Linked DNA regions of Homo sapiens: regions 1, 2, 3 and 4 are each linked to region 5. The links are contacts of gene promoters, found by promoter capture Hi-C in blood cells and fetal thymus (Javierre and others, 2016). All regions are on one chromosome and are shown on one strand. Each heading gives the region's core, a stretch centred on a gene start or on the middle of the fragment in contact. The rest is flanking DNA. Distances are from core to core; before and after follow the strand shown. Region 1 has its middle 31 kb from the start of SSX2IP. Region 2 has its middle 57 kb from the start of SAMD13. Region 3 has its middle 2.9 kb from the start of LINC01461. Region 4 has its middle 5.4 kb from the start of LINC01555. Region 5 holds the start of RPF1 (ribosome production factor 1 homolog).

What was found. Contacts are between HindIII fragments. The CHiCAGO score rates a contact against its expected background, and 5 or more counts as called.
Region 1: a fragment that was not itself captured here is called in contact with the fragment with the promoter of RPF1 in region 5 in 2 of 17 cell types (megakaryocytes and fetal thymus); the score reaches 5.7 in megakaryocytes.
Region 2: a fragment that was not itself captured here is called in contact with the fragment with the promoter of RPF1 in region 5 in 1 of 17 cell types (megakaryocytes); the score reaches 5.9 in megakaryocytes.
Region 3: a fragment that was not itself captured here is called in contact with the fragment with the promoter of RPF1 in region 5 in 17 of 17 cell types (neutrophils, megakaryocytes, naive B cells and 14 more); the score reaches 16.3 in neutrophils.
Region 4: a fragment that was not itself captured here is called in contact with the fragment with the promoter of RPF1 in region 5 in 3 of 17 cell types (neutrophils, megakaryocytes and M1 macrophages); the score reaches 6.7 in neutrophils.

The regions. Positions count from the first base shown.
Region 1 is chr1:84,720,043-84,722,742 of GRCh38, reverse strand. No RefSeq gene overlaps it. Among named protein-coding and RNA genes, the nearest start is that of SSX2IP, 31 kb to the right of the region's middle. The HindIII fragment of the contact is 2,886 bases long and covers 7-2,700 here.
Region 2 is chr1:84,243,529-84,246,228 of GRCh38, reverse strand. It overlaps the pseudogene NEDD8P1. Among named protein-coding and RNA genes, the nearest start is that of SAMD13, 57 kb to the left of the region's middle. The HindIII fragment of the contact is 2,620 bases long and covers 112-2,700 here.
Region 3 is chr1:84,622,537-84,625,236 of GRCh38, reverse strand. No RefSeq gene overlaps it. Among named protein-coding and RNA genes, the nearest start is that of LINC01461, 2.9 kb to the right of the region's middle. The HindIII fragment of the contact is 1,531 bases long and covers 516-2,046 here.
Region 4 is chr1:84,639,021-84,641,720 of GRCh38, reverse strand. No RefSeq gene overlaps it. Among named protein-coding and RNA genes, the nearest start is that of LINC01555, 5.4 kb to the right of the region's middle. The HindIII fragment of the contact is 2,281 bases long and covers 131-2,411 here.
Region 5 is chr1:84,477,866-84,480,565 of GRCh38, reverse strand. RPF1 (ribosome production factor 1 homolog) reads right to left here and starts at 1,300. Exons shown (of 9, transcript NM_025065.7): 1 at 1,057-1,300. The coding sequence starts at 1,284. RefSeq lists enhancers at 724-883, 1,079-1,639. The HindIII fragment of the contact is 6,088 bases long and covers 1-2,700 here.

The DNA.
Region 1 (2,700 bases), core at 200-2,699, 240 kb before region 5:
AAAGCTTAATATAGTAACAATCAAAACAATAAATAACCACTGTTTCAATGAGGAATTATCAACCCCACAAAAACAGAGAGCCATGTGGTTATTTAATGGTGGCAAGAGAAGAGGGGATAATGGAGTATGAATTGGGGGAAGTAATTGTGATCAAATCCTGACTCTTGCTAGGAAAAGGGTATGACATAAAGAAGAGGAGCATGTTCTTGGCTCTTAAAATGAAGAGTTGGGAAATGCTGGTATAGAAGGAGAGCTGAATATTACCTTTGAACAGTCAAGGGGTAGACTAAAGTCAGCATTATTCAGGTTTGTGATCACCTAGCATCCTTTCACTCACTGTTTGTAGAATTTCCATACTGATTTCCTCTTCCTCAAATTATTCTTCCTTGCAGCTAGGGTACAGGCATGTGACCCTGATTCAGCCCTATCTGCTATGAAAGGAAAATAAATCTTGGGACCCCAAAATCACTAAGCCAAAGGGAAGAGTCAAGCTGGAACTGCTTAGGGCAAACCTGCCTCCCATTCTAACCCTAATAAAGATAGCTACTAAGATAAAAAAGCTACAGACCTCCCTCACAATTAGTTCACAAGGAACTTCCTTGCTGACAAAAGACAGACAGAACTCAAAAGTCATCCCTTCTGCTCACTGAGATAAACACATATCTGATTGCTTCCTTTGAAGAGGCTAATCAGAAACTCAAAAGAATGCAACCATTTGTCTCTTATCTACCTATGACCTGGAAGCCCCCTCCCCACTTCGATTTTCCCACCTTTCTGGTCTGAACCAATGTACATCTTACATATATTGATTGATGTCTCATGTCTCCCTAAAATGTGTAAAACCAAGCTGTGCCCCGACCTTGGGCACATGTTGTCAGGATCTCCTGAGGCTGTGTCATGGGCGCATTCTGAACCTTGGTAAATAAACTTCCTAAAATTGACTGAGACCTACCTCAGATATTTGGGGTTCACACTGTGCATACCTCTTATTTAGAAGTGAGTAAAATGAAATGTAGGTACAGTGAAGAAAGGATCTATTGGTGAAGGTGGGGTTGGAAACATCCCATGTTTAAAGAGCAGTCACGGCAGAGTTCTTGGCATCTAGTCCTATCCCTATTAGTATGAGCTATGAGGTCTTCTCCAGAGTAGCCCCTATCATGTGGTTTGAGCCTTGCTTCTGACTCTACAAGGATAGCCTCCACTACTGACCCTCTGCGCTACCTACTATCCTTCAATATCCTTTGTCAAATAACGTGCATTGGATTTGAGGCTATAATTAGCTCACCCTTTATTACTAAGCCTTTGTTCAGTGTTACCTAAGAATTACCAGTTTGATCTGTAGATGAAGCCCTGGGACTTTGAGGCAGAGGGCCTAATTTGAGGGAGACAAGAAGACTCTGAGTCAGCAAACCTCTCTTCTATCAGAAAGTCTGGTTTCTATTGGTGCAGACTGAGTCATGGTTCCTGATAACTTACAAATACCATAGTGAGGTATTTTATGGCTCTTAGTTGAAGAAACTGTTTCTGTCTTCATTTTTACCACTTCCCATGTAGATTTGCACAGACATGGCTTTTATCACAAAATGTGATTTAAATAGAAGTGTTCATCCTTATACTGTAACTGCTGGTTAAGTATTTGAGAAAGGATATTTCTTCTTATTTCTCTTTTATATATTGCGTTTTCAAAGTCACTAATCTCCAGATGGGATCTCATCTGAACACCCACTTTATTTAGATTTCATATGGAAATAGCTTTGACCCCTTAACTATTCTATAAATAATAAAACAACCCAGCAACTTCTATAAGGGAACCTTTCTTTTTAGCCAATGATCTGATTCAGCTGGCAGTAGGCCCCATAATTATTACTAATTAATAGAAATTTAACAAAGAGAGTTTCAGCTTTTGATTTTGGAGGAAAAAATACAGGATATGTAAGAAAAAAATGTAACATCGAATAGTTAACTTTCAGTGAACTATGCATGACACTGTGAACTAAGGCGAACACCTGGCCTTTTGGTCCCTGAACTGTTAGATTACAATTAGTGCTTTTTTTCTTAGTCTTTAACTTGGGTTAAGAACTGCAAGTTCAAAGAGATGTTTGTTTTGAGGAGGGAGTTTCCAATGGGTGCAAAGTGTAATCCATTCTGAGCATATGCTGGTTTAGAAAGTGCCTTGGTGGTGGCAATGTTTTCAGCTGTGGCAGCAGAATTTCCTTATCTTTGTTGCTCACTAGATTTGCTTTAGAATGATACTTTTAAAATTCATTAGACCAGTAATAATGCAGTGGCATTTAACCTGATACTCAGATGGCACAAAGCACTCTCACCACCGTGCTTCATTCGCACAGTTACACATTAATAAAAGGCCTTTTCATTCCACTCTCTGCCTGTTCGGCTGAAAGCCACTATTAATGCTTTTTTTTCTTAATCACATGTTTTCTGATGACACATTTCTTAGCCCGTAATAATTAATGTTTCTGGCCAGAGCATTTAATAGTTTAATGGTTTTTCAAATTTGTTTCCATAGACTGGTCAAGTTGGATTGGGAAACAAGCCCAAAATATATTTAAGAAGAAGCAAACTGCCACATGCTTAGTTGTGACTGTGAGTTCTCAGCACAGTCCTAACACACACTCACTAAATATTTAGTGAATGCATGAATGGAAAAATGAATGCAACTCCTAGCATGACATGAGATCC
Region 2 (2,700 bases), core at 172-2,671, 230 kb after region 5:
CTCCTTAGCAAAAATCAGTACTGGACACACTATTATTAGGAAATCTGTAAAACCAGTCCCAAATAACTGACAAGTGATATCTATGGAGGGAAAGCAAAATTAGAAAAAGCTTATCAGTGGCATATAATCTAGAGCAATGTATTTTTACCTTAAAGCTAGGTAAGATGGCTGATGAGTAGATTCTGAATTGGATTTTAGGAGCTGGTGATATATGAAGGAAAAACACTCAGCAGCTTTTTATCACATGGAAAAAAACTTCTGTTTGGTTAGTGATTATTTTCTGAACCATGGTATAAACAGGAATAAGGTTATCAACAGATAAGTAAGTGACAAAGAAGGACATTGCTACTTGAATAAAAGAGGCTTTTTTTTGGATGTCCAATTAACCACATGATTTATTGACAGAAAACAGTCCAACTCAGCCATGTGCTTCCTGACTTTGACTCACTATTTAAAAAATAGTAAAAACTTTAATAAAAAGTTGGTTGTGTTGATTACGTGTTTTTAGCATATTGTGGTGAAGAAATTGGCAGTGAAGATAAGAGGGTTTTTTTTTTCCCTCACATGACGGTGGTCTGGCTGTTAAAAGAAAGGGTTCTCACGAGTTTGAGATATGAAGAATGAGAGGAAACATTTCTTCATGGCAATAATAATGCTAGAGAAGCCATTTTAGTGACATCTGGTGGCTTGCACAAAAGCATATTGATGATGTAGTATCACATTTTCCATCTTGAAATTAAAGGATCAGGCTGGGTGCGGTGGCTCACGCTTGCAACCTTAGCATTTAGGGACGCTGAGGAGGATGGATCACCTGAGGTCAGGAGTTCGAAACCAGCCTGGCCAACATGGTGAAACCCCATCTCTATTAAAAATACAAAAAAATTAGCCAGGAGTGTTGGCATATGCCTGTAATCCCAGCTACTTGGGAGGCTGAGGCAGGAGAATCAATTGATCCTGGGAGTACGAGGTTGCAGTGAGCCGAAATTGTACCACTGCACTCCAGCCTGGGTGACAGAGCGAGACTCTGTCTCAAAAAAAAAAAAAAAAAAAAAAAAAGAAATTAAAGAATCAAGATTTCTTAAGACTGAACTCTGGTGAAAATGGCTTGTTAAGAGTAGGACTCTTACAAGATTGATGATCTAAAAAAAATGTATTAAATCAATGCTCTGTTATTGGGCGTGTTTATTTTTATCTTTGATTAATTACTTTATCATTACAAAGAATGCAAACAACTCAACAAGGTATAAGGGAAGAATTAGGAAATAACCTCAAATCTCATACCATTGATAACATTATTACACTATTCTCGGTGCACATATTGAGACAGAAGGGTAGAGAGGTAGAGAGGTACCTAACTAGATAGCACTAATTTTTTTTTTTTTTCCAGGAGGCCAGGAAATATTTTATTGACAACCAGGGACACAGCCATAAGAGAGAGAAGCACACAGGACTCCAAACTAACATCCAATAGTCAGCAAGGGCCCTCTGGGCCAGGAATACTGAATCCTGGTGTCCTCACAGTCTCCCACCAGTAGACATACATTACTGGGCATCCAAGGGAGGGGGCAGTGGCTCTGGTGTCCCAGAGAGTGAGAGGATATATGATGCCTCATTACGAGCGACAGGGTAGGGAGGTAAAATGGAGGGTCCATCACTGCCTAAGACCACCTCCTCCTCTCAGAGCCAACACCAGGTGAAGGACTGAACCACCTAAAATCTTGTAATCAGCTGCTGTCTTCTCATCATTCATGTTTGCCACTGTAGATGAGCCTCTGCTGTTGTGGAGGGATTCCCTCTTTCTCCTCCACATGCTCCTTGATTCACTCCACCTTGTCTGTAGGTTCAATATCAATCTCAGTCTCCTTTCCAGTTAGTGTCTTCACTTTAATTAGCATCTTCTTTCCAGTTTGGGGCTGCACACGGATAAATTGCTGCTCCTACCACTCCGGTCGCCACTGCTGCTCTTCCAGATAGCACTGATTTTATAAAATTGTATTATACTTTTTTTTTTTGAGACAGAGTCTCACACTGTTGCCCAGGCTGGAGTGCAGTGGCGTGGTCTCAGCTCACTGCAACATCCACTTCCCAGGTACAAGTGATTCTCCTGCCTCAGCCTCTTGAGTAGCTGGGACTACAGGTGCACACCACCAAGCCCAGCTAATTTTTGTATTTTTAGTAGAGACAGGGTTTCACAGTGTTGGCCAGGATGGTCTCGATCTCTTGGCCTTGTGATCCACCCGCCTTGGCTTCCCAACCTGCTGGGATTACAGGCGTGAGCCACTGGCGCCTGGCTTATACTTTTTAATATAAAGTGTTCAGTTTAATTTTGTCTATATTACAAAATCTAATTCACTAGAAAAAACTGAAATGAAAATAAATTTAACGCAAGGAAAAGAAGTTGAAGGGAAAATGAAAACTGTTTATATATGTTCCTTCCTCACAAAAAAATTACAAAACCATAAAGAAAAAATTGAGAGGTTAGAGTTATTATCTTATTTAATCCACTTCAATTTTAGACTCCATTAATTGACATCCTGCTATAAAATGTATGGATGTTAGAAGTTTTCTACCTTCTCTCACTTCTTTCTTTCTCTACCTTCCAACTTTGTTAGTTATATTATTCTAAGTTTGCCAAGGTTTAAAACATTTACATTCAGTTCTATGATTGTAATCATCATAGGTGCTTATAATTAGAACTAC
Region 3 (2,700 bases), core at 32-2,531, 140 kb before region 5:
GCTTGCTCTAGGAGCCTCATTTTCTTCTCTCCCTGAGGACAGGATCATGTGCATGATGTCCTTGTGCCCCCACTGTCACCAACTGCAGTGAGAAAGGTAGCTCGGAAAAGGGGTTCTCAAAGAAGCCTACAGCAAAAGGGTTATCCCTCAGGGACAGCATGGTGTGTGCCTGTGTGCACATGAACATCATCTTAGATAGTTCATTTTGTCTGGACACATTGGTTCAGCTACAGCGATTAACTGCATGGTGGCTTGAGCTCTATTCCCGGTGGCTGGGTGTCCAAACTGGTCCTTGAGCAGTGCTCACAGTCACAGGAGCCACAGACTGCAAGACTCACCCCTGAACACAATGAGCACTTAGCACGGGCAGTGAGAAAGCTGTTTATCATCCTCTGCACCTGGGCAAAAGAGACGAATAAATCCTAATGTGAAAGTTCTGACTTTAGGTGAGGTATTTCACCTTATCCTGTCCTCAAAAGTCATCTCTAAATGTTCCTGCTTCTTATTTTCAAGCTTGGAGGGCCTATCTTTCTTTACTCATTGTGTATCCCAAGAGAAATTTGGGTGTGGGGGGGTGGGGGCAGAGGATAGGTGTCCTTGCAGTCCAGTTTGATCCTAGAAGGGGTGACTCTGCCCTTGCCCTTTAGGATAACATGGCCAAATTAGGGTAACAAGAGGGTTGCAATTCTCTTATGTTTGAGTGTATACTTTTTAAACAGCCAAAAAATGCACAAATAAGAATAAGGCAAGATGTGGCTGGGCACGGTGGCTCACGCCTGTAATCCCAACTCTTTGGGAGGCCAAGGCAGGCAGATCACCTGAGGTCGGGAGTTTGAGATCAGCCTGACCAACATGGAGAAACCCTGTCTCTGCTAAAAATAAAAACTTAGCCAGGTGTAGTGGTGGGTGCCTGTAATCCCAGCTACTCAGGAGGCTGAGGCAGGAGAATTGCTTGAACCTGGGAGGCGGAGGTTGTGGTGAGCCGAGATTGCGCCATTGCCCTCCAGCCTGGGCAACAAGAGGGAAACCACCGCCCCCCCACCCCCCACCCCCCAAAAAAAGAACAAGGCAGGATGTAAACTATGTGACTTAATGGAAAAATTCATACTGGTTGCTTAGCCAGGTCAGAATTAGATAACCATCTTCTATGGGGTCAAGTATAAGTACCCAGCTGCTTCTGTGTCCCCACTCAGCTCAGAGCTTAGTCTTTGAAACTGGTAAATAAAGCTGCACCAGAAAGTGTTGCGCATCAAACTGGTCAATTAATAGTTACAGCGGTTCAGGTCAGAGTATCTCTCTCTAAACAGTCCCTGATAGAGATAATCATCCCACCAGTTCTGAGAAATGTAGAGAAAACTTGTATCTTAAGTGACTCATTTAACATTAAAGCAGCCTATTAAGTTGTCTATTTTGAAATTTCACTCTATAAAATTTTCAGAAGACTTCTAAGTGCATATTCAGCTTTGTTATGGCATGTGAAGAACATTATTAAAGAGAAAAAGATTCTAAGTGCATAGAGAATAATGGGCTCACCCTCCCACTAGTGAACACTTAAGAATCTGACATCTTCCACCCATTTCTCTGTGTCCCTTGCAAGGGGACAGTCATGCCCTGGGCAATCCCAAGGAACACTCCTTTCCCATCTTCTACTGGAGATGGTGGAAGTACCATCTAAAAGTCTTAGGTGCTACATTCTGGTACTGGCCCTTTCATGGCCAAGATATGTTCCTTTGGGCAAGTTGTTCAAACTCTCTAAGCCTAGTTTTTCAACTGCAATAAAGATGATTCCAGTTCAAAATCTGGGCAAGTGTGAGTTACTGCCACTACGTGCAGTCAAGTTCTGTCATGTTTCCTCCATCAAGCTACCCAGCAGGCTTGGGAGAATCAAATGTAAGGAGGTGTAATGCTACCAAGTTTAGAAAATCTACTAATGCTGCTTCAAGACAACAACTTCCCTCCTTCTAGCTCATTTGAATCCCACAGCAATCAGGAAACATAACTGTCAGGTAATATTTTTATTTCCTTTTGGGATGAGCAAACTAAGCTTAAGCGAGGTTAGGTAATTTACTCAGAAGCACATAGCTAATAAGCAGACTAAGAAGAACTTGGGCCTTTAACTGAATACTGCAGACTTTCTACCCCACTCGCTGACTCTATTAAAAACGCAAACTGGCCAGACCAGGCATGGTCCACCAGTCTTACCAGTGTCACCCAGGTGCTGGCTTGTATTAGGTTGGTGTAAAATTAATTGCGGTTTTGGTCACTACTTTTAATGGCAAAAACTGCAATTACGTTTACACCAACCCAATACTTCCTGATGCCTTTATTTTTACCAAGCAGAAGGGGAATGCACCCCTTCCTCATGCTTCCACACAGGAAAATATACTCTACTAAGCATTGCTGAGCAATGTTGATCTCACTAGAGACTTCATTTCATGGGGATAGAAACATTGGAGAATTTGACTTTGTATCTCCACACACCACATCATCATCACCACCAAAGATGGTTTTTTTCCTACAGGCTCTTCTCTCTGCCTCAGCCTCTATCAGGCTGCAGATGACCAGACAGGGAGAAAAGAAGGGGAGAGAGAGAGAGAGAGAAAGAGAGAGAGAGAGAAAGAGAAAGAGAGAAAGAGAGAGAGCGAGAGAGAGATAGAAGCAGAGCCTAGGATGCTACATGTAAACAGTGAAGTAGATACA
Region 4 (2,700 bases), core at 22-2,521, 160 kb before region 5:
GAGATTTTTTTCTTCTGTAATTCTCAGCCCAGAACTATTATTTCAAACTAAACTTGTATTTCACATTTTTAATTAGTGAAGAGGCTCAACGAAATGCAATTTTCAAATAGTCACCCAATAGTATAAAGCTTTTGTGGAATATCAATTTAATTTCTAGCCACTTTTAGTTTCTTTTATCTTGAAAATCTTTTACCTTAATAACTAGTTGATTTGGTTTTGTAATGTTATTCCTTTTAAGCAAAGAGGTATTAAATAATAAGGAAGGCTGGGTGTGGTGGCTCACGGCTGTAATCCCAACACTTTGAGAGACCAATGCAGGCAGATCACCTGAGGTCAGGAGTTTGAAACCAGCCTGGCCAACATGGTGAAACCCCATCTCTACTAAAAATACAAAAATTAGCCGGGCGTGGTGGCAGGCGCCTGTAATCCCAGCAACTCGGGAGGCTGAGGCAGAAGAATTGCTTGAACCCGGGAGGGGTAGGTTGCAGTGAGCCTAGATCACGCCATTGTACTCCAGCCTGGGGGACAAGAGCAAGACTTCGTCTCAAAAATAAATAAATAAAAAATAAATAAATAAGGAAAATCTCTATAAATTAGATCTCAGTGAAATTAAACTTTTCCAAACAAATAGTTTTTCAGATTCTGTGTTAATGCCCCAAAGAAAACTAGAAATCCAACAACTAGCCACACAAAGCCTTGGTACATATGTTCTAAAGAAGCTATTTTGATCTTAAACCATGAAAAATTTTAACTGGAATTTTAAAAATCACATTGCCTTTTTATTTCCAAAGCACTTGTCTTCATTTTTATCAAGGGCAAATATCTGAGGAAACAACTCATAAATGCTTTTTGTTGTTGTTGAGACAGAGTCTTACTCTGTTGCCCAGGCTGGAGTGCAGCGGCGTGATCTCAGCTTACTGCAACCTCTGCCTCCGGTGTTCAAGCAATTCTTCTGCCTCAGCCTCCCAAGTAACTGGGATTTCATGCATGCACCACCATGCCCAGCTAATTTTTGTATTTTTAGTAGATACAGGGTTTCTCCATGTTGGCAAGGCTGGTCTCAAACTCCTGACCTCAAGTGATCTGCCTGCCTCAGCCTCCCAAAGTGCTGGGATTACAGGCATGTGCTGCCACGCCTGGCCTCATAAATGCTTTTAATTGAAATTCTTTGATAAGGAACGAAAAGACTATGGTAAATCTCAGAGGCAGGTTCTGGCCTTGGCAGTGAGGGCCAGAAAGGGGTGTACATCAGAGACACAGTTGCTTGTGGTGTGGTTTCCCAAAATCTGGAGGTGCACATTCCTGTTGACTCAAACTTTTGATAGTGAAATGGGGAGCTATTCATGATTAGGCCTGTACCACAGTGGAAATTGGGACAAATGATCACCCTGTGTATAATGGAAGCCCTGTCCAAGTAAGCATAACTCTGACTTGAGTTTTGATTGTTGAACCTGTAAACCCAAAATAAAATCCTAAGGCCCCCCAACTATTTGGGTCCCTTCTCTCAGCCAAGGGCATTCCAAAGTTAACCTGAAAAACTAGTTCAGGCCACGATGGGAAGGAAGGGTGAGACATGCCTGATTATACCCTCCTTCCTCTTGGAATTCAGGAAAAGTTAACCAGCATTAATATCAACACAGACCTTAAGTCTTATAAGAGACATTTACAACCTATGCTCCCTGAAGGCTGTTACCTGGAGGCTCTATGATAAAACTTTGGTTTCCACAGCCGCTTATCATCATAACCCATACATTTCTTTGTACTGATTCCAAGTCTTTAGATAATAACTCATTCAGGCTAGGCGTGGTGGCTCACGCCTGTAATCCTAGCACTTCGGGAGGCTGAGGTGGGTGGATCACGATGTCAGGAGTTTGAGACCAGCCTGACCAACATGGTGAAACTCCATCTCTACTAAAAAAAATACAAAAATTAGCTGGGCATGGTGTTGCGTGCCTGTAATCTCAGCTACTCAGGAGGCTGAGGCAGGAGAATCGCTTGAACCCAGGAGGCGGACGTTGCAGTGAGCTGAGATCGCGCCATTGCACTCCAGCCTGGGTGACAGAGAGACTCCGTCTCAAAAATAAAATAAAATAGAATAAAATAAACTAACTCATTCAACAAATTGCCAATCAGAAAATTTTTAAATCTACCTCTAACCTGGAAGCCACTGCTTCAAGTTGTCCCACCTTTCCAGATTGAACCAATGTACATCTTACAGGTATTGATTGAATGTATTATGTCTTCTTAAAAAGTGTAAAAGCAAGTCACACCCAGACCACTTTGGGCACATGTCATCAGGACCTCCTGAAGCTATGTCATGGGCCTGTCCTTAACTTTGGCAAAATAAACTTTCTAAATTGATACCTATCTCAGATATTTTTGGGTTCACAAACCCTAATCCCTACAAAGCTTCTTCCTTTAATTCATGCCTCAGGTATAGTTTCTAAAAGATGGAATCAAGTTGTGGTCTAACCTAATATAGTCAGCTTTCCTATAACACTCATAAACACCATGTAAAAAAGGACAAGTTTGTCTCAATGCAGTTGACATATTAGGGAACAATTTGAGCATAATGCAAAATTTGTGTTTGCTTATGTGTGATTCTGTTAGTGAGAAACACTAAGTGAATGCAGAAAACTGTGCCCAGCTGATCCAAACTAAACAGTAACACACAAAACAAATATACATCTCAAATGTCTA
Region 5 (2,700 bases), core at 51-2,550:
GCACTAAAAATAGGAATGGGAGCTGAGTTTTCAGGTTGTTTTCCATAAAACCATCACCAGTTATTCACATATTTTATAATCAAAATATACTTCTAAAATTTAGTAAGAGCTTGCAAGGTGGCTTAAGATTATCTGTATTTGTATTGTCAATCTATATATTCTTCTGGAGATTTCTAGATAGAATGCTTGACAAAATAAAAAATATTCTTTTTTCCCCAGCACCTACTGATCCTCAATCCACCAGGTTTCAGATTAGAAATCATAGCTCCAATAAGTCTTCCAGGACATCCCTCCCCAATACGTGCATACCAGAATGAGTTAAACGCCCCTTGTATGTATTGAAACAGCACCTTGACACTGAACATGAGTAAGAACCAGTCCCGGGCCTCAGAAGGGCCAGTAAGAGGAGGCAGACACATAATAATAATATTGTGTGAACTTCTACGATGTGCAAGAATAAGCAAACGTTTTCTTCCAATTGCAATTTAACCAGAAATGAGCACTGCGACCTTGACAAGTCGTTTAAACCTCTTTACGTTTCAGTTTGTTTACCTACCAGAAACGTATAAGGATAAAGCTGAAAAGAACAAATACAATTACCAGAAACTTTACAGTACTAATTTCGGTAAGGAGCTCCTGCAGGAATCAGAGAAGCAGTATTTTGGATTTATTACGTATTGCCTCCATTTCAGATTCTGCAAATTAACCAACGCTACCTAGACGGACCAAAGGGCTGAGACTTTTGCCTTCTGGGCCAGGAGGGCGTAGTTTTCACTACTAAGCCAACTGGCCTTACAGCTTTCCTTGTGAATCTAGCGTCCCAGGAAAGAGCCTATCAAGATAATCTTCCACCTTGACGCTCAGGCAAAAGGCTGAACCTAGAGTCTCCAAACTAGGGCGAGGGGACCAGAACACGTGGGCCGCGACGCCACCCTTCCCACGGAGCCACAGAGAACACTTTTGAGACCAGCAGACAACCACAGATGTGCGCCCCGCGACCGCCCTAAGCGTCAGGAACAACGCGCAAGCGCCCGGCAGCCCCCGCCTCTCGCGTACCTTCCGCTGCTGCTGTTTCCACCGCGTGAACATTAAGTGTCGCCGCTGTTTGTTTTTAATCTCCGAAATGCTAAAGCCTGGCGGAAAGGCAGCCGCTTTCGGGGGTTGGACCCCGTTTTCCGTCGCCCCATCCCCAGCGCCTGCAGCCTCCTGAAGTTCTTCGGCAGCGGCTTTCCGTTTTAGACTTTTCTTCCCGCTGCTGCTGCTCTTATCCCCGGCTTTCGCCATGGTCTTGGCTCCTTTGCTTCCGTACGGAAACGGAAATAGCCTTCTCCTGTGACCCCCTTCCTTAACCTTTTACTTCCGGGGTCGCAAAGTTTTTGACGCTAGATGTGTTTTGTGAGTTTTAGCCATTCAAGAAAATAGTAAAGCTGAGGCTTGAGGAAACTTTAGGCAGTTTGCCCAGCTGTATAAAGAGTGAGATGATGAGTTTGGGCACTCCTTGCGCATCTATGTGCCCAGCCCTCAAAATAATGGAACAACAACAAAAACCGTGCCTGGATTAGTTTACGTTTTACTTGAGGGAAACCTAAAATGAGCATACAAATAAATTATGGTGAGCTACAGAGTAAGACATGGTATGGAAAAAAAATAGAACAGGATAAAAGAAGATGAAGAGACATTCATCTTTTTGAGACGGAGCCTTGCTTTAATGCCCAGGCTGGAGTGCAGTGGCACGATCTCCGATCACTGCAAACTCCTCCTCCTGAGTAGCTGGGACTACAAACACGTGCCACCATGCCCGGCTAATTTTTGTATTTTTGCAGAGATGGAGTTTCACCATGTTGGCCAGGCTGGTCTTGTACTCTTGATTTCAGGTGATCTGTCCGCCCTGGACTCCCAAAGTACGTTGCAATTTTAAATAGGATTCTCAGAGTAGGCTTCATTGAAAACGTTACATTGAGCCAAGGTTTGAAGGAGGTAATGGGCTAAACTAGTTATCTGAGGGAAGAGCTGTTAATCTGAGAAAAGCTGGTTATCAAGGAGAAAAGCTGTCCTGGCAAAGCAAACAGCCAGCTCCAATGCTCCTAGTCAGTAGCAAGCCAGGAAAGGCAAGAAGTGTTGAGATTGGACAGGTGGTGTAGAGTTTTGTAAGGACTTTGGCTTTTATTTTATGTGAGATGAAGATCTCTTATAGAATTTTGAGGAAAAGAATGGTATGATCTTAACATCTTAAAAGTATCAGGCTGGTGCAGTGGCCCATGCCTGTAATTTTAGCACTTTGGGAGGCCAAGGCAGGAGGATTGCTTGAGCCTGGGAGTTCAAGACCAGCTTTGGCAACACTGTGAGACCCCATGTCTACAAAAAGTAAAAAAATATATATATCTGTTTGGGCATGGTGTACATCTGTGGTCCCAGCTACTCAGGAGGCTGAGGCAGTAGGATCCATTGAGCCTGGAAGGCTAGGTTGCAATGAGCCATGTTGGTGCCACTGCATTCCAGCCTGGGTGAGAGGGTGAGACCCTCTCAAAAAAATAAATAAAAATAAAGTAAAAGCGTCATTCAGAATCTTCTTTTGAGAAGAGCCTATGCAGGGGCAGGGTGTGTGGAAGAAGGGAAGAAATGATAGTGGCCTGAACCAGGGTAAGTCTTGTGTAGGTGGTTGAGAAGTGATTCCTCTGGAAGGTAAAGTTACTGATGGAA